Linked DNA regions of Homo sapiens: region 2 is linked to region 1. The links are contacts of gene promoters, found by promoter capture Hi-C in blood cells and fetal thymus (Javierre and others, 2016). All regions are on one chromosome and are shown on one strand. The core of a region is centred on a gene start or on the middle of the fragment in contact, and the rest is flanking DNA. Distances in the headings are between cores, read along the strand shown. Region 1 holds the start of REEP4 (receptor accessory protein 4). Region 2 has its middle 120 kb from the start of SNORD3F.

The links. Contacts are between HindIII fragments. The CHiCAGO score rates a contact against its expected background, and 5 or more counts as called.
Region 2: a fragment that was not itself captured here is called in contact with the fragment with the promoter of REEP4 in region 1 in 5 of 17 cell types (naive CD4 T cells, naive CD8 T cells, non-activated CD4 T cells and 2 more); the score reaches 8.6 in naive CD4 T cells.

The regions. Positions count from the first base shown.
Region 1 is chr8:22,140,619-22,143,453 of GRCh38, reverse strand. REEP4 (receptor accessory protein 4) reads left to right here and starts at 1,547. Exons shown (of 8, transcript NM_025232.4): 1 at 1,547-2,003; 2 at 2,757-2,829. The coding sequence starts at 1,972. RefSeq lists silencers at 1,504-1,633, 1,644-1,793 and an enhancer at 2,558-2,835. The HindIII fragment of the contact is 1,867 bases long and covers 1,164-2,835 here.
Region 2 is chr8:20,493,030-20,495,935 of GRCh38, reverse strand. No RefSeq gene overlaps it. Among named protein-coding and RNA genes, the nearest start is that of SNORD3F, 120 kb to the left of the region's middle. RefSeq lists an enhancer at 2,042-2,580. The HindIII fragment of the contact is 288 bases long and covers 1,360-1,647 here.

The DNA.
Region 1 (2,835 bases), core at 298-2,797:
TTCAGCTGCTCCCCTATTCAGTCACAGCTTTCCTCCTTCAGGGAGACCCAGGACACTTTTCACCTAGAGAACCATGTCTGTGCCTAAAGATGGACAGTGGCTGGGGCCTTCCTTAGGAGTTCCTCTAGCCCTTGGCCTTTTTGGTTACTCCAATGTGTGTGTGTAAGGGGGGACAGGTAAATGTGAGGGTTGGTTAAGAGAGGAGAGGGAGACATGGGGCCTCGGGGAAGTTTCTCCTGTGGGCTGGTTTCACTGCTGGCTCTCACACCCAGCAATACCAATAAAACTGATGACAGTAATTAAGACCATATAATCACCGTGTGTTTATTTATCCCCCAGAAGCCTCCTTTCCCTGGCCCCATGATTACCTATTCCATCCTTATGATAGCTGGTGGGGGTTAACTGTGGCTCCAATAAAAAGCAGTAACTGCCTGTGTTTCCACCCCACATGCCCGGACAGCTTTGCTCCCACCCTCTGCAAGGTGGGGGGACACTATTTTCAGAGGGAACAACAGAGGCAGTAAGCTGAAGATGTCAAAAAGAATGAAACCTCACAGGGCAAGTAGTAGAAGCAGCAACGTTTGCCTTCTTTTTTAGAGCCTTCCCCCTTCTTCCTGGCATCTGCCTCCCTCCCAGAGGAACTTATCCGGTTCCATGGCCCTCTGCAGGGCCACTCAGCCTGCAGCTGCTGATCTCTCAGAAGACTGATCAAGCCAAGCATGTAGCCACCAGCCAGCAATAAATACCACTGGGTGATACCAGGAAAGTTACTTTTCACCACTGAGCATCCTATTTCCTACATGGTTAAAAGAAGTTTGCAAAGACTAAGACCTTGCGTGCAAACGTGCATTACAAAATGGCAATGGTTGATACTACTATTAAGGGCCCAGGGTTATTTGTGTACTTGGCTCAGAGGAATAGGTGGAATTTCAAACTTCTGCTGAAGGAGTGTGGGAGCTGAGAGCTCTACCCAGAATGCCTCAAATCATCGCGGTCAGCCTGCCCCGGAGTCAGGGATCTGGAAAGGCATCCCAGAGAGAAGGGAACCCCTGAAACCTGGTGGGGCAAAAAGTCCCTCAGGTTCCCTCTCCCCCCACACCTCCCCCCTTTCCCTCCTGGACCCACTGGTGTGAGACCCGGACTTGCTGGCGCTCAGCCAAGCTTCCTTCCAGCTCCTGACTGAGCCTGCAGAGGAGATCCTTCCCTCTACCCCACCAACCGCATCTCATGCCTTTACCCGGTTCACAGAGGGGAAAATGAGGCGAGAGGGAAAGACACCGGGAAAAGCCAGTGAAGGGTCGCTTAAACTCTGGAGTCCAGATTTTCTTTGTGTGCCGACCCCCGCACTCCCCCTGCTTTTTTGTTACAGCTTCCCACACGCTAATCTTTCCGATTGGGAAGGTGGCTCCACTGTGGGCCCCACGCGCGAGTCCCGCGGCACATCGCCCCTTTAAGGGGCCGGCCTCTCGCCTCCCTGACCTCGCCCCGCCCCCTCCGGGGCTACACTGCGCCTGCGTGGCAAGCCGGAGCCCTGGGGTTGGGCAGCACTCGGTTCCGTGCAACTTTCAAGTGAGTTGCGAACTCCGCCCTGTAGGCCGGTGCTGGTGGCCCGGCGCGCTGGAACCGCGGCGACCCGCTCCAGCGCGGGACCAGCAGCAAGGGCCGAGCGCCAGGTTCTCCGCGGCAGAAAGGGCGGGTGGGAGCTGTAACTGCCCCGGCCGCGGGGCGCGCCCGCTCCCAAGTCGGCTTCCTCCCCGCCGGGGCCGCTTTGCCTCGGGTCTCCCCATTCTCCAGGTCCCCTGAACTGCACAGTCGGAGGCCGTGGGCGGCGGGCTCTGCCTCCGCCGAGGGACAGCCGGATCGCCCCTCTGCTTCCCGCAACTGCCCTGATCACCCCCCGTCCCAGCCCTTGAGTGAACGTCCTTCTGAGCGGCTTCCTGGGGTCCTCCCCACGTCCCAAAGGCCGGCAAGATGGTGTCCTGGATGATCTGTCGCCTGGTGGTGTGAGTATGGCCGCCCTCAGACCTCCTCTACCCCGGGGTGCCGTCCCGCCCCTGTGGTGGAAGCTGTGGACGTCTAGTGGGAGGAGGAACTTTCTGAGCTCCACCCTCCAGCACTCCATGCAAGGGTTAACGGACCTGTGGGCTTGCACGCGGTGTCTGGGGCACCGCAGGCTACCCGCCCCACCAAGCCTCGTTGGCTGAGAACGACCCCTGCCGCACGCCACACACACTGCAAACAGATGCGTGGAGCCGAGGGCCACAGGCCTACCTTGCTGCCCCTTGGCAAACACAAGGTGATATGGCACGTTGTGGGCGGAGAATCCAGGTGCCTGCTTGCCATCTGAGCAGTCACATGACTCACCATCCTATTCCTCACCTTTGAGTATGCCAACATCTGGCTCACATAGCCCTATCTGCAACCCAGCAGTGTCAGGTCTGGTGACCCTGGGCCTGATTGCATGCCCATGGGAGGGGACAGTCTGGTGTTCTCACCCACTTCGTGGAGTGGCTGTCCTCTCACTCCATCATGCACCCATGGGCCACCGGTGCAGGCCTGGGCAGGCTTGGGATGTTTGTAAACAGCAGGGTGGGGAGGTGGCCTCCAGGGCTCTGACTCAGGCACGGGTTGTACAAGCCAAGCGAGAAAAACAGGGCGGGTACTGCCACCTTGCACCCCAGTGGGGGGAAATGGCCACTTGGCAAGGTGGGAGTGGGGCATGGTGCCCCTCACACTCCCCATGGCTGCTCTTCCAGGCTGGTGTTTGGGATGCTGTGTCCAGCTTATGCTTCCTATAAGGCTGTGAAGACCAAGAACATTCGTGAATATGTGAGC
Region 2 (2,906 bases), core at 254-2,753, 1.6 Mb after region 1:
GCCAGTGTCCTGGGCACCTGCTGCCACCGACCAGCCACAGGGTCTCACGGACCACCTCGGAGTTTGAGTTTCTAATATGTAAAATCAGTGTTGGGCCTTCGCTCTCCATGTGTTATAAGTTTCTTAAGGAGGTTAAGGCCTATCTGAAAGAGCCAAAGGGGTTAAAACCTGCAAAATGTGGGGTGGGAGCACGTGCATCCCAGCAGGAGAGATTAGCAGTCCTGGAGGGGGGGGATCTGGTGGGGGAGGGATAAGGCAAGTGGAGTTGTGAAGATGCTGAGGTTTTAGACTTAAGACCTTAAACAAGTCAGATGGAGATGGGGTCTCCATTTGTGTCAAGTAGGGCAACCAGGGCTGGTGACATAGGACACAGTGCAGGCAGCTTCACTCTGGGGACTTTGGCTTCATGGCAGTGGCTCAGGAAAGACTCTGGACCCCAGGAGGTCACAGCCCCAGGAGCTGGCTGGGATCGTGGAGACTGTCTGATGTGAGCACACAATGGAGGAATGTGCCCCCCGGAGCCCACATGCACTCATTTCTCTTCTCTACAAGTCTTTGGCTGCTGGAAGAACCCAGGTGCAGAGAGTTGGCCAACCCTTAACCTCTTGGGCTCAAGCAATCCTCCCACCTCAGCCTTGTGAATAGCTGGGAATACAGGCACGTGTCACCACACCAAGCTATTTTTTTAACATTTTTTTATAGAGATGAGGGGTCTCACTATGTTGTCCAGGCTTGTCTCGAACTCCTGGGCTCAAGTGCTCTTTATACCTTAGCCTCCCAAAGTGCTGATTAGAGGCATAAGCCACCATGCTGGCCAACTCAGCTTTTCAAGTAGTTCCTCTTATCTTTTGTTATGTAACTGTTCACACCCTGTTCCTTTAGGGTTTTGTTAAAGGCCAACCATCTAACCCCAAGTCAGTGGTTCTCTCTGAACATTTAATCCCTAAAAACAACAACATCACATTCAACTCACAAAAGGCCCAACTGCATTATGGTAACCAGGGTTGAAATTCACCTCAGCAGACTTCCAAAACTCACATGGCTGGGATCTAAGTAGGCAAATGCCTGTATTATATGTCTCTGTGATGGTAAATGGGGCTAAGTCACCAGAGTCCAGGAGCCTCACACTTCTGCCAGGAGCCATGGAGCGACATGGCTGCTCTCCTCTCACCCTTCCCTTCAGGGGCCCCAACAGGCTTCCCAGGCCTCAGCGGATAGACGTGAACTTTCCAGCCCCTGGGCTGAGGTGTCTCAAGGGACTTCTTGAATTACAGACCCAGACACCAAGAAGCCTCCCCTTCTCCATTTGGGTGTGCTGTGGCAAAAAGAGAACAATTCCCTCCTTTCCACCTCCAAGCTTGTTTTTAGCTCTCTCTCTCTCCTAGCACCTAACTCATCAGCATACAGAGTAGTTTTGATAGAACCCCTATAAGGCTTTCTCTCCAAAGAGGGATTTTAATACCCTTCTCAGTGACATTTTATATGATAACAGTATGTAAGTTTGACAGGAAGCTGTTTTCCAAGAGTTAAAGTCCAAACAGTCCCACAGATCAGACTGATAATGGCTTTCCTGATCATTATTAAATTCCCTGTGATTAGAAAATGGGCCGGTGCTATTGATTTAAGCTCTTTGAGTTAAGCTAAGCTTTAGAGGGCTTTCACAAGGCACAAAAAGGGCATTTGAGACTGTATTTTACCTTCCCAATTAAAGTAGTTTTCAGAGTACAAACAGCAGACAGCCAGACATTAGGCAGGCGTTCCAGAAAGAAAGGTGGAAGCATTTGTCCAGAACATGGAACCAGAAGACAAGCCCCATCACAGCCAAGACAAGCCCCATCACAGCCAATGCTGCAAAGTGCAGACAGAGGTTGAGGCTCAAATTCCCTAAGAAAAAAGGCTTCCTACTCCCAACAGTGCCTGGGTCAATGACACTTTGAATTCAACCTCAAAGCATCTATAGGTGATAAGAATTTCCAGTCCTAGAATTTTGAGTTTCAAGGATTTCAATTTCAATTTCAAGGATTTTTTCATGTGGTCTTTCAATCATGGTCAAGCTGTCTATACAAATTTTGCATCAAGAAATTATCGCCAAATCTCCAAAGGCTAAAGATTCCAGATTACTTTTTCAGCTTAATAAGTGAGAAAAGAATGAAGGCAACGGTGTTTCTATTACAATCTAAAGCTCTAGAGAAAACAAGGATCCCTAGAGGAAAATCTTGAGCAATTGCAGGGTCTTAAGTGCTTTGTGTCTTTCTGAAGGAAAGACACTTGAGGTTTTTAGGTGCGCCTGCAGTGCCTATTTGTTGCCCAGACAATAAGCAGTTTGAGCGACTGTGCTCAGGCCCCTGAGCATTTCTTCTCTTGACTGCCTGTCTTCTAATCCGCCCCAACCCCAGGAGAGCTTTTCTGAAACCAGTTGCTTCCTCTCCAGCTGGGAGGTCTTGGTGCCCAATGTCTTTGATTCTGCCCACAAGGGGCTCAGCATCCAAGCTAGGAGCCTTGTCATACGCATCCTGTCACTGTTTTTTTTCTTTTTTCAAACCATGATCAAAAGTAAGAAACTTATTTTTAAACCACAACCCAGCCTGTGACAGGCATTTAAGACAAAAACGAAAGTTTCAGCAAATAATACTCATGCGTACTAGGGGCATTTTGATGTCACAGCCCGCAAAATTGATGTTATGGTTCCAACAGGTGTCAGCCTGCAAAATGAAAACTGCTCGGTGTTATCAAGGATCACAAACATTCCTTTAAAATGTATTTATTTAGCAATTACTTAGAGAGCACAGGGCATGTGCCTGTGTTAACTGTTGTATGGGGACAGGGAAGAATATGGAAGTCTCTCCCCTCAAGCAGCTCACAATTGACATGGAGAGGCATAACTGATATGTAGGAAGATGTAAATA